Linked DNA regions of Homo sapiens: regions 2, 3, 4 and 5 are each linked to region 1. The links are contacts of gene promoters, found by promoter capture Hi-C in blood cells and fetal thymus (Javierre and others, 2016). All regions are on one chromosome and are shown on one strand. The core of a region is centred on a gene start or on the middle of the fragment in contact, and the rest is flanking DNA. Distances in the headings are between cores, read along the strand shown.

Region 1 (2,547 bases), core at 16-2,515:
ACTCAAAAAAATAATAAAATAAAATAAGACATAGAAAAGGGAAGAGACCTAAGGTTGCACAGACATCAAGGCTTGATTTTAAAAGAGAATTCTTTACCTCTGAAATCTTTCCAAGAAGGAACAGGGTAACCACAGGAAACTCTAAAAGTTGTATCACTTCAAGCTTTGGGATTTTTCACCCACCACAGATTCAATGAAATGGCAGTGCAGAGTACTAAACTCAGACAATTCATAACTGAGAATGATATTAATGTGTCAGAGCACCTAATCAATGGGGAGAAATTGGGGCAGAAGAGAAGAAAAGCGGAACCAGTGTAGATAATGCAACAAATGAATGGAAACTACATACTGTTTTTTGCAGCACTTACAGTCTAGTGGGGGAATGGAAAGAGGAGAGCTGTTTATAGAGTGCTTGCCGTGTGCCAAGCCCCGTGCTGATTACCCCTCCAGTGTCACTTCATTTAGCCTTCTACTCAAGAAAGAATTATGATCCCATTTTAGAGATGACGAAACAGAGATAAGAGGGGTTAATCACACCAAGTCAGTAAATGGCACAGATAGAAATTGAATCTTGCGTCTTTCTAATCCCAAAGTTGCAGTTGTTGACATGAGGCCGAACTGGAAACTGAAATCACTTAAAGCTCACTTACCACTATGAACAAGAGACACGGCGTATAAAAGCATGATTAAAGAGGTCTTGATCATCAAATGCGGCTAGACTGGGGAGTTTTGGCGATCCATAAGGGCTGTGATTTGATCATTTTGTAGTATATGTCTGGCCACAATAGATGCACCCACAAGTGTTTGTCAGAATAAATGATAAGCTGCCATGCTTCATTCTTTGGGATGCTCCTTTCTGACCAAAAAAGTTATTTGGTGTATATCCAGATTCATTCTGAAACATAAATGTTCAGCTATGGTATTTACTCAAACAGGTTTTTCTTTCTCAGCTGCTGGCGTTATCTTTTTCCCCTCCCAGCTGAGGGTGTAAACTCCAAGCCAATGCACCGAACCTGACCCAGACTCAAGGTGTTTTCATAAGCTGCTGAAAAGCATTTCCAAAACAAAAGATAACTAGATTATACTTTAAACTTCTGGATTTCGCTTAGCTGTAGTTTAGAGGAAATCGACTAATAAAGATCCTAAAGTTATACACTACAGGACAGTACAACTTAACCAGAGGAAAGACATTGGCCTGAAGAATTTTGAGCCTCGGCGCTTGCCGTTGCTCATCTGCTGCGGCGCTGGTCGCGCCTGCGCTTTGGTTCTTGGAAGGCGGTGCTCTGAGAAGCCGGACTACGCGGCAGCGGCTCTTCAAAGCGGAGCCGGGAGTTTTTGCTACAGTTTTCGCCACCATGAGTCGCAGCTATAATGATGAGCTGCAGTTCTTGGAGAAGATCAATAAAAACTGCTGGAGGATCAAGAAGGGCTTCGTGCCCAACATGCAGGTAAGGCAGGAGAGCAAATGGCGGGGCCTTCCGTGCTCCGTCCCCGGCCCGGCCGGCGTCCACTGCGCCCTCTGGACCTCCCCTGACCACTGGGTCCGCCCCGGCCCCTTGCAGAGTTTCCCTCATCCCGTCCTTCTCCCCTCACGGTTCTGGGGCCGCCCAACCTGTTCCGGCACCACCTCCCGCCAGGAGAGGTCCCCGAACCACGAGGACAAGCTAAGTGCGGTGGATATGGGAATCTAAATAAATACGAAATTGGGGTTTCCAAAGCGTTTTCACAGATCAGTCTCATAAACGTATCGTGAGCTGTTTTACGTTCACAGAAACTTCAGTGATCTTTTCCAGGGTGGAACAGCCAGCCCCAGGTTCATTTGCTGGGACTGGAATTCACCTCCTCTGAGTCATGCTGGTTATTTAAATAACGTTTACAAACCTTTGTTCACTAAACCAGGTTTTCAGCATTCAGTATCGCATGTTGGTTTTTAATAAAGCGATGTCATTTCTTGCAGTAGCGCAGGGCAGGGCCTGTTTGATTTTAATATTCACTTCACAGAAGGACCTCGAGGATCTGTCGGTGACATAGCTTCCTCTACCCACCTAGGAAGAAGCTCAGCCAGGACTTGATGTCCGGTTTACTTCTTTGACGTCCCAGATGGAGACTTGAGGGCTCAGGATCATCAGATAGTTTGAAAGCCTGGGCTCTGTATCTCTCGGCCTTCATCACCATCTGTGCTCATATTTTTATTAATGTGAAAAAAGAAAACGTTTATGAAGTTTTGCAACGTATTTTTAAATAGTTTTTGAAATCCCTGAAGGTGCCAAGTAAATGCTTCAAAGGTTTACCGTCTCGTCTCACGTCTTGGTAAACAGCTCCCAATAGTCACTCCATTCTTTTATTCAGAATCAAAGCTTACTGAGTTTCCCTTGTTGGCAAGTCACTTACACTGAGGGAAGAAAAAGCGCACGGGGATAAATCTGTGTTCTGTTTGCTGTTTGGCCACTTTCTTTGTGTGGAAACCGTTACCCTGAAGGAAGGAATAGAAAATCTAACATAGGGAGAGCGCAGTGGTTCATGGCCTGTAATCCCAACGCTTTGGGA
Region 2 (2,547 bases), core at 21-2,520, 450 kb after region 1:
ACAGGCATGCAACAACACAGCTGGCTAAATTTTTGTACTTTTAGTACAGATGGGGTTTTACTGTGTTGCTCGGGCTGGTCTCAAACTCCCGGACTCAAGCAATCCTCCTCCCACCTCGGCCTCCTAAAGTACTGGGATTACAGGTGTAAACCACCTTGCCAGGCTTGTTATAACATTTCTAGGACTCCTTTTCTCTAGTTGGGGATCAAAATATCCATGGCGTAGTGGAAAGAACCTTAAAGTAAGACAGCCCATTTCAATCTCAACCTTGCCTCTTACTAGCTATGCACGTTACATCACCGAATACCTGGTTTCCTCATGTGTTAAAAATATTAACATTCCTCACTGCTAAGGCTGCTGTAAAGATTCAGAGACCATGCATTCAAAGTACCCAAGACACAGTAAGTATTTGAGATGGTAATTTTTATTAGCCAGTCTAATGATTGGGTTTTATAATGAAAGAAGACCTGTTAAGTCACACCCAGCTCTGAATCATAGTGTTTGTGCTTGCCTGATAGTCACATCTGCTAAGATGAGGACCCTCTCAGTCTCTGGATGGCAGATTCTAAGGGTGTATGGGAGGAAGGTATGGAGGGCCTGATGGCCCACGCACAGCCTATTTAATCTTACAGAGCCAAGAGGAATCCTAGCTCCCTGATCCCGAAGGATTTAAGGACGGCCAAGAATTTACCCAACAATAGCTTCATTATCAAGAATCCTACCCCTTCCCCCAACTCAAAGAAATGGACTTTTGAGCAGGGTTTGAGGAGCTACTGGAAATCTGAAGCAATAGCAACAATAATTTTTTCTGGGGGGGGGGGGGGGGCGGGGACGGAGTTTTTGCTCTTGTTGCCCAGGTTGGAGTGCAATAGCGCGATCTCGGCTCACCGCAACCTCTGCCTCGCAGGTTCAAGCGATTCTCCTGCCTCAGCCTGCTGAGTAGCTGGAATTACAGGCATGCGCCTCCATGCCCGGCTAATTTTGCATTTTTACTAGAGATGGGGTTTCTCCATGTTGGTCAGGCTGGTCTCGAACTCCTGACCTCAGGTGATCCGCCCACCTCGGCCTCCCAAACTGCTAGGATTACAGGCGTGAGCCACCGCGCCCAGCCAACATCAATAAATTTAAACATCCCTTTTCAAGTATAATTTCTTCCATTCTAAGTGAAAACATTAAAAACACTGAAAGTCTCCTAAGGGTGAAATGTGTTGTATCCATTTTCTTTCTAGTCTCAACCCAAAGAGCATGGCAGTTAAGAGAACCAGGGACAAGGATTCGGGATCTGAATGCTACTCCAGATGCACCAATTTTGCCATGACCTAGAAAGCTATTTCATTTCTCTGGACTTTAATTTCTCATGCTGTAACATTGAGATGACCCCTTCTTAACGATTTGAGAAAGTTATCTTGACAAGTTTTAAAACGTTTTAAGTAGAATTGGGGAAAAAATATGCAGCAGTGAAGACTTCCAGGCTTACATCACATGTAATTTACAGCACCCTCTTAGGTCCTTTCAAAGAGCCTCATCTATTATTTATGTGGCTAACCTCCTTTTCTTTCTTTTTTTTGAAACCGAGTCTCACTCTGTTGCCCAGGCTGGAGTGCAGTGGGACAATCTCGGCTCCCTGCAACCTCCGCCTCCTGGGTTCAAGTGATTCTCCTGCCTCAGCCTCCATCGTAGCTGGGATTACAGGCACCAGCCACCACACCCAGCTAATTTTTGTATTTTTAGTAGAGGCGGGGTTTCACCATATTGGTCAGACTGGTCTCGAACTCCTAACCTCAAGTGATCCACCCACCTCAGCCTCCCAAAGTACTGGGATTACAGGCATGAGCCACTGCACGCGACCTATGTGGCTAACATTAATCACGTATGTCCATACTTCCCCATACCTCATTCCCAAAGAAGGTGCCTTACACACCATGAACTTAGATTAAAACATAACCCAAATCCTACACTTAAAAAATGAGGGACCTGAACCTCAAAGGTGGCATGGCTTGCCAAGGTTCCCCAGGCCCCCCAGAGGGCCGTTAAAATTCTGAATAAATCTTGGGTGGAAGCTGTCCTCTAGCTTACCAGCTGTATAAATTCCAGAGATCCACAACCTTTGCACTTTAGCTTCCTCATCTGTAAAGTGGGACAAAACCTTTCAGAAGACAGCTGTAAAACGTAAATGTGAATGCTTTAGCAACTGCAAAGGACATTTCAAATGTAAAAGCGACCGGGCACAGTGGCTCATGCCTGTAATCCCAGCACTTTGAGAGGCTGAGGTGGGAGGATCACTTGAGGTCAGGAGTTCAAGACCAGCCTGGCCAACATGGTGAAACCCCATCTCCACAAAAATACCAAAATTAGCCGGGCACGACAGTGGGTGCCTGTAATCCCAGCTACTCAGGAGGCTGAGGCAGGAGAATCACTTGAACCTGGGAGGCAAAGGTTGCAGTGAGCTGAGATCGTGCCATTGCACTCCAGCCTGGGTGACAAGAGTGAGACTCCCATCTCAAACAAAAAAAGAAAATGTAAGAGCCCTTTGTGTGTGTGTGTGAG
Region 3 (2,547 bases), core at 25-2,524, 330 kb after region 1:
TCCAAGCAAGCTTTATTCAAGATGATAATACGTATTCCATGAGAAAAAGAATTCCATGGTCAAAAAGGTCTATAAAATGCTAAACAGAATTAAGGCAGTTTCTTTGCCACACAACTTTTCTGAGCCTTTAATATATGCCATGTACAGTCATCCCCAGGGAGGGAACACGGTACATGACATCTCACAAACTCACTCAACTATTGAACTCTTTTTGCCAAGGAACAGCTATTAACACTTAGAGGTTCCTTGCAAGTCACCTGTAGACTGTTGCTCTGAGCTATTGTCCATCTTTTGCACCTCAGTGTACACAGGTTTATCAGAGCTCGTCCCCAAAAGCAAGTCTGAGTGCTGGAGAGTCCATAAGTGAGAAACCCCACCCCCACCCAGGAGCGGGGAGAAACTTAGCAAGTTTGTAATTTTAACTCCCCAACCCGGATGCAGTCCATCTTGACTCAGACACAACCAGAACATCACCAAGCACCTCTTACATAGCAGGCTTGGTACTTGCTGGTTTTATTTAGATTATTTCATGTAATTTCTGGGAGAATTGCTCCCTCCTCACTCCTGAATTCTTGATGCAGTTCTTCCATCTTCACCCTTTCTCCTCCTTCCTGTCTCTTTCAGCCTTCTCCTAATGAACCTTCTACCTGGCTGGATGGTGCAGTTGCTCATATAAACCAGCAGAGAGCACCAGGGTCACCCCAAATGCATGTTCATGTCATCTCCAAAACAATACCAGGGAGGGTAGTATTAAGGGATGATCATGGTGAGTCTTTTTTATTTATTTATTTTTTGACAGAGTCTCACTCTGTCGCCCGGGCTAGAGTGCAGTGGTGCGATCTCAACTCACTGCAACCTCTGCCTCCTGGGTTCAAGCGATTCTCCTGCCTCAGCCTCCTGAGTAGCTGGGATTACATGTGTGCACCACCACACCCAGCTAATTTTTGTATTTTTAGTAGAGACAGGATTTCACCATGTTGGTCAGGCTGGTCTCGAACTCCTGACCTCGTGATCTGCCTGCCTTGGACTCCCAAAGTGCTGGGATTACAGGCGTGAGCCACTGCGCCCAGCTGAGTCTTTTGTTTTCAAATCTCCAGGTGTGGACGAAACTGGACTTCCCTAGATGGAATGAATGCACGAACTGTTTTCACTGCACAAACCCTAACATTTCACGGCACGCAAACAGCACCCAGACGGAGCCTTGGGGATGGGCCAGCAGGGTTGGACTCTTACTTCTCACATCTCCTCTTATATCTTGCATCTCCTCTCTAGTTCCGTTTCCCAGTCCCCATCCCATTGCTGCTCCTGAGGGCCCTCCAGTGTTTAAGTTTCCCACCATACCTGCCTGTCCCTCCTATGAGAATCTCCTATTCCCTCCCTCCATCAGTTAGCAAAGAGCACATCTAATACCAACTCCATGCTTCTGAGCTAACACGTGAGCCCTGGAGGGTGATTCGACCTCCTTCCCGAAGGTGGGCCTTTTGAGGACCTGATGCCATAGTTCCCCTCTGCCCAGATCTCCCCTGAAGATTCTCTCACCCAGGGGACCCAATGTCACCATCTTCCCTGGTGAAGGAGGGGAGGCAGAGCCAGGAGGTGGGAGGAGAGATGGTGAGTTAGAAAGAAACTCCTCTCTCCCTGGAGTTAGCAGTCAGAAGAACCAGCATTTTAGCCCCAGTGCCGCCACTCTAGGCCTGCAAACCTTTGGGCAAAACATTTCCCCTCTCTAATTCTCAGTGTCCTCGTGTTTATGCAGGAAGTCCTGGCTCCAGGGACTTGTGATTCTCAGTGGTTGGAAGTGGGAAAGGTCTGCAGTGAGGAAAGCATTCTTCTCCCGGGTTCTGGACCGCTTCCATTCTGCCTTGCCCTCTGCAGTAGCCCAAGAGGAGGAAGGCGCCTCTGCTGTGCATAAGTCTTGCCAAAAGTGAAATGGCCACTTCTTCCTGACTCTGCACACTGGGCCATTTGAAATTGTAATGAATATTTATAATGCTGGTCCCTCTCCTCTCATGCCTCTACACAGTCACATAAAGTTACTTAAATTCAAGGGGCCCCATTCACTGATTGCAGTGAAATTCTGTTAAATGCACACACGTTTGATTTGGTGGATTAGCTAATAAGTGTAAATAAGATAGGAAAAGATTACAAAGCTGACACTGCCTTTAAACTGCCCTTGGTTGATTTTCCAGAGTAGTTAATTTTTAATGCTTTATGACAACATGCCATCGTAGACTGTGATACCCTCATTAATATGTGCCTTGCTGTCATTAGTCACAAAGAGGCAACACATAAGTTATAAGATAATGCTATAAATGACCTCTATAAAGACTTCTGAAAAGTGTTGGGCTAATAAAAGTCTTGTTTTTATGATATTCTATTTCCTTCTAACAGTACAGATAAAGGATTCTAAGGAAACCTCCCTGGTGAATTGAAGAAACCTAGGACAAATTCTTCCTCGCATGAGTCATTCTAACTTCAGAGATGAATTCTGCCTTGGCATGCCAAAGGCCAGGCTGGGAATACCTTAGCTAAGCTTATGTAGCTGAC
Region 4 (2,547 bases), core at 14-2,513, 310 kb after region 1:
AATGGACACCCCAATTACCCTGATTTGATTATTTTATATTGTATGCCTGTATCAAAACATTACATGTACCCCATAATTATATACAACTATTATGTACCCATAATAATGAAAAATTTAAAAAAAATTAAAGAACATTGCAGTGTGAACATGAAACAAGGACAGATCCCCTAAATGGATACTCACATGCACATCCGGAATGGGTTTGGTGAGGAGGGAGATGACCACGATGGTGATGAAAGAAATGGCGAAGAGGATAATGGCAAAGTACAAGTAGTGCACCCCACAGATAATCGTGGGACAGTTGCTGGGCTCCATGCAGCTCCCGGTTCCATAAGCAAACTCAGTAATCATACGTGAAATCCCAATCAGAAGTCCTAGGATCAGTCCCCAAAAGGCTCCCTGTGAAAGAAAACCCTGGGTTAACTCATGCTGAACACACAAAACAGATGGCCTTTCTAACATTCTTTGGAGAGGCATAGGCAGAGGCAAAGGAACAGAGGTAGGAGAAGTGGTAGCTCCAGGCTGTCTGAACCCAGAACACTGAAGTTCAGAATATGGCTAGGAGTGCTATGCACTCAGACAGACACACTCAGTGTGTCTGTCTATCATGTTTCAGCAACATGATTTCACCTCGATCATTAAACAAGGAGCCATAATATAATGGGGTAAAGTGTCTAATAACTGGAATAGAATGTCAACCTACAGACTTGATTCCAAAAATTCCCTTTAACTTGAAAAATAATTTGAGCCTCTCCACCTGCAGCTACTGTCAACACCAATCTCCAGATTTAGGCATATTCAGATGAAAAGTAATTACTTGTGAGGTAATTTGTATTTCACAAAGACATGGGAAAAGAAATTGGGTCTTTGGAAGATGAAGGAGAAAGAAACTTTTCCATCAAAATATAAATAACACTTACTTTTTTAGCCCTCTTTGTAGTTTATTTTATGAACTATTTTTAGTTTGAGAACATAAAATTATACTGTGTTTTTACATTAAATTTTGGGTCTGCATATTAGAATATGGAAGACTTTAAGAGACCAGAAACATGAGGGGATGATTTTTCAGGGTTTTTTTTACTCCTTCCTTCCTTCCCTCCTTCCTTTTTTCCTTTCTATCTTTCCCTTAGGTAAGTCCTCACCTAAAGGACTAGGTTTGAGTTTGGCAGGCCAGTGGCAAAATAGAATGTGCTCTTAGAAGGGTGGCCCAAAAGAGCTTTCACAGTTTTATCAGGTGCTGGTCAGCCTCTTTGCTAGCCATTGGTATCCCTGCACTTTCTATTCCAAATTATCAGCTATCCCCCACACATGGCATGGCATGTGTTTTTGTCTCCAGGTCTTTGTACAGCTCATTCTATCTGGGAGAATACAGGCTCTTCTCTTCCTGGTAACCTCATTCTAGCTTAAATAGGACAAGCTACACAGGGTGGGTGCACCCTTTCTTGCTGTGGCCACAGCACTGTGGACACAGATCCAGGCAAGCACCAACCACACTGCCATGGAATCACAATAGTTCTCTGTCTCCCAATCTGAACCGGGGGATTGCCCAGGAAAGGAAACAGGTTTCATTCACTTTGTGTTGCTAGTGCCTCACCCTATGCTGGCATCTGGAAGTGACTTCTAGATGAAGAAATAAATAAGGAAAAAGAAAAAAATATGTTCCCTATTCATCCCCCATGCACTATTTCACTCAAAAAAATTATTTCTTAGCTGGGCATGGGGTGTGCCTGTAGTCCTCGCTACTTTGGAGGCTGAGGCAGAAGAATCACTTGAGTTCAGGAGTTTGAGACTAGCCTTGGCAATACAGTGAGATTCCTGTCTCAAAAAAAATCAATAAATTTGCCACGAAATAATTTTTTAAAAATTCAAATTTTTTCATAATAAAAACTCAACAAATTAGGTACAGAAGTAACAAACCTCAAAAACAATAAAGATTATAAGCTATATATGACAAACTCACAGCTGACATCATACTGAACAGGGAAAAATTGAAAGCCTTTCCGGTAAGATCTGGAAAAAGAAAAGGATACCCTTTCACCACTTTTATTCAACATAGTACTGGAAGTCCTAGACAGCGCAGTTAGGCAAGAGAAAAAGGGCATCCAAATTGGAAAAGAAGAAGTCAAATTGGCCTCATTTACATATGATATGATCTCATATTTAGAAAAACCTAAAGATTCCACCAAAGGGATCACTGTTAATGAAACCCTGACCTACCTTTCCAGCCACATCTTCCATCTTTCACATTCACAAACTCTCCTTGAGCCAGGTGAGATTCCATACAAGTCCTTCACCCTCACTCCTGTCCTACTTCTGCCTGAAAGGTCTGGGCAGTACTGTTCTCTGACTTGAATGCCATGTCTTCCCTCTCCAACTTCAAATTCTTCCAGCTCCAGCTGGTCCAAGGAGCCTTCCCTGACAGTTTCAGTCCCTGCTAATAAAGCCTTTCTTAAATCCCTTCCTGCTCATATCATGTGCTGTATTGTATCCCTTACTTCTTACGCACTTTGTTTTATGTATAAACTGCTTGTGCACCAGGACTTTGTC
Region 5 (2,547 bases), core at 35-2,534, 270 kb after region 1:
CTTGCTTAAACCTTCAAAACAATTTTTGTAACCTTTTAATGTAGGTAAAAATCCACATTCTTATGCTTCCTTATAATCCTTTTACCAAAGGCATATTTTACTTTCCTTATATACCTTGCACATAAACTGTTTCTTCAACAGTTTTACATTCAGGAGGATAATTAATTTAAATTATACAACATTTCTTGCATAAATTTCTTTTTCTAACACTTTTTTTCATGATTTTCACAGACAATTCTTCGACATGTCTCAACTTTCTGACTTATTGGAAACATCCCTTTCCTTAAACAACTAGTTAATTTATTTCAGGACAAGAATTTTCCATATAACATTCCTTTTTATATAAATTCTGCACCCCCACTTTTTTTCTTTTTTCTTTTTTTCGAAGATGATAACCATTCTTTTCCAAAGCAAACTTCCTTCAGGTCTGTGGACTAGACTGTCTAAGGCCACAGATTAGAAGTTACTATCATACACGTTACACTGTTAACTTTTAGCAAAACAACTTTACTTTTGTTGAAAACCTTGTAAGTGTGGGATTTCAATTATCCTTTGCTATTAATAAGACTTTGTTTAGTCCAGATTAACTTAGAATTGGTATAGATGGCTTTTTTTTTTCCTGGTTCTGTAAGTACTTCAAGGCTTGGCTGGGTGGCAAAGTTGAGCAGACCAATTATTAGGCAATTTTCCTAACTCTACTTCTACAAGAGTTTTCCTCAATTACAAAATACCCATTGTGGTTTTTCTCCTTAATCACCTGGGAGGAACTATCTATCATCCTGTCCTGAAGGTAGTTCCTCCTAGGTCTGGTCGGATCTTTGTATGGTAATTAAGATTTAAATTCCCTGTTAGGAAATCTTCTGGGTTAAGGGAATTTTCAGGGGTTTATGTTAAATCATCTTTTTCTAACGGAGTAGCCCCATACTTTAAGATTTTTGAGTTATTAAGCTACCTTTTTGCTTTTTTTTTTTTAACTTAGGATACTTCTGAACTGGTGAGGTGTGCTCACAATGAGGTTTCCTCTAAAAGTTATTTTTCTACTTTCTTCTGTCAGCAAAGCAGTTGCCGCTACAGACTGAATGCATTCGGGCCACCCGTGGGTTAATGGGTTCAAGGAATTCACACCAAATCAGAATCAAAACCAAAACCAAAGTGCAGATAAAGGACACGCCCGTTCGTCAAGCAATTTAAACCAAGTCAAAACCAAAACCAAAACCAAAACCAAAGTGCTGATAAAGGCACGCTGTGGGTGATCAGGCCATGCTTCCACTCAAATGGAGTGGACAAGTTCCCAAGACAGGTCCTGTCAAGCAATTCAAGTCAAAATCGAAACCAAAACCAAAGTGCCGATAAAGGCACGCCCATTTGTCAAGTAATTCAAACCAAGTCAAAATCAAAACCAAAACCAAAGTGCCGACAAAGGCACGCCCGTTTGCCAAGGAATTCAAACCAAGTCAAAATCAAAACCAAAACCAAAGTGCCGATAAAGGCACTCTGTGGGTGATCAGGCCATGCTTCCACTCAAATGGAGTGGGCAAGTTCCCAAGACCAGTCCTACCATGTTCCAGATATACGGACTCCAAGCGCCAGTTCCCTCCCGGTGCTCAGCCACTGCATTGATCCTCTGCTGGGGCCTGCCATGCACTGCTCTGACAAGGCATTCCACCGGGGCAAATGCCTACCCAGGAGCATGCTCAGGATCCACGTAGCTCAAGCTGGCCAGAGTCCCCTGCAGGGATGCTCCACAGGGCAAGCCTAAGCCACCTAAGGGGCTGCTTCACTTCCCGGTCAGGGAACCAAGAAATGTAGCAGGATGAGCCACAGACAAAACTCCTCAGACACCGGGTTAAAGAAGGAAGAGGCTTTATTAGGCCGGGAGGTCAGCAGACTTGCGTCATAAGAACAGAACCGAGCTCCCCAAAGAAAGAGTTCCTGGCCCTTTTAAGGGCTTACAACTCTAAGGGGTCCACGTGACAGGGTCGTGATAGACTGAGCAAGCATGGGGTACATGACTAGGTGGGGGTAAGCAAGGCAAGTATTTCTCCACACCATTGTCTGTGATCTATAGATAGCACAAGCGATTAGGGTGGGGGTTAATCTTCAGCCTACAGGCTAAAGCAACACCAGAGAGGATGGAAGTGAGACCCCTGGAGTTGTGGTTGTGGTCAGATTGGACCTTCCCGTGGCTGCTGAGACTCTGGGGCATTGGGGATACCTGAGGATGCCTCCCTGCTCTTACTTTGTGGTCACCAAGAGATCAGGGTTACCACAACCCTATAACGTAGAGAATCCCTGTCCCCTTCCATGCCACTTCACTCCTTAGGGAAGCAAACGCCCTCCCAGGAGCTCATTCCCATTCCTGGGCCACAATCAAAGGGAAAACCTGATCCAGACATGAATTTCCTTGGGCCTCTGCATTTCCAGACATCCTGTCATTGTATGCATGGGGCTGACTGTCTCATCTCAGCTTCAGAAGCGCAGGCAGAGTTGTGGACACCCTGCTGAGCAAATGCCCACCGGAGTCAGGGGTTCAGCTTTCCTGCACCA

Evidence for each region. Contacts are between HindIII fragments. The CHiCAGO score rates a contact against its expected background, and 5 or more counts as called.
Region 2: a fragment that was not itself captured here is called in contact with the fragment with the promoter of RTCB in region 1 in 1 of 17 cell types (total CD8 T cells); the score reaches 7.3 in total CD8 T cells.
Region 3: a fragment that was not itself captured here is called in contact with the fragment with the promoter of RTCB in region 1 in 1 of 17 cell types (M0 macrophages); the score reaches 5.2 in M0 macrophages.
Region 4: a fragment that was not itself captured here is called in contact with the fragment with the promoter of RTCB in region 1 in 2 of 17 cell types (total CD4 T cells and naive CD4 T cells); the score reaches 5.9 in total CD4 T cells.
Region 5: a contact is called between a fragment that was not itself captured here and the fragment with the promoter of RTCB in region 1, in 3 of 17 cell types (non-activated CD4 T cells, naive CD4 T cells and total CD8 T cells). The highest score is 7.3, in non-activated CD4 T cells.

The regions. Positions count from the first base shown.
Region 1 is chr22:32,410,965-32,413,511 of GRCh38, reverse strand. It overlaps RTCB (RNA 2',3'-cyclic phosphate and 5'-OH ligase), which reads left to right and starts at 1,265. Exons shown (of 12, transcript NM_014306.5): 1 at 1,265-1,448. The coding sequence starts at 1,356. RefSeq lists an enhancer at 1,116-1,295. The HindIII fragment of the contact is 2,194 bases long and covers 166-2,359 here.
Region 2 is chr22:31,959,086-31,961,632 of GRCh38, reverse strand. No RefSeq gene overlaps it. Among named protein-coding and RNA genes, the nearest start is that of LINC02558, 10 kb to the left of the region's middle. The HindIII fragment of the contact is 3,046 bases long and covers 1-2,547 here.
Region 3 is chr22:32,079,239-32,081,785 of GRCh38, reverse strand. The region is part of intron 5 of SLC5A1 (solute carrier family 5 member 1); the gene reads right to left. Among named protein-coding and RNA genes, the nearest start is that of SLC5A1, 37 kb to the right of the region's middle. The HindIII fragment of the contact is 2,523 bases long and covers 13-2,535 here.
Region 4 is chr22:32,099,874-32,102,420 of GRCh38, reverse strand. It overlaps SLC5A1 (solute carrier family 5 member 1), which reads right to left. Exons shown (of 15, transcript NM_000343.4): 13 at 184-399. Among named protein-coding and RNA genes, the nearest start is that of SLC5A1, 58 kb to the right of the region's middle. The HindIII fragment of the contact is 4,968 bases long and covers 1-2,547 here.
Region 5 is chr22:32,136,924-32,139,470 of GRCh38, reverse strand. No RefSeq gene overlaps it. Among named protein-coding and RNA genes, the nearest start is that of C22orf42, 21 kb to the left of the region's middle. The HindIII fragment of the contact is 8,725 bases long and covers 1-2,547 here.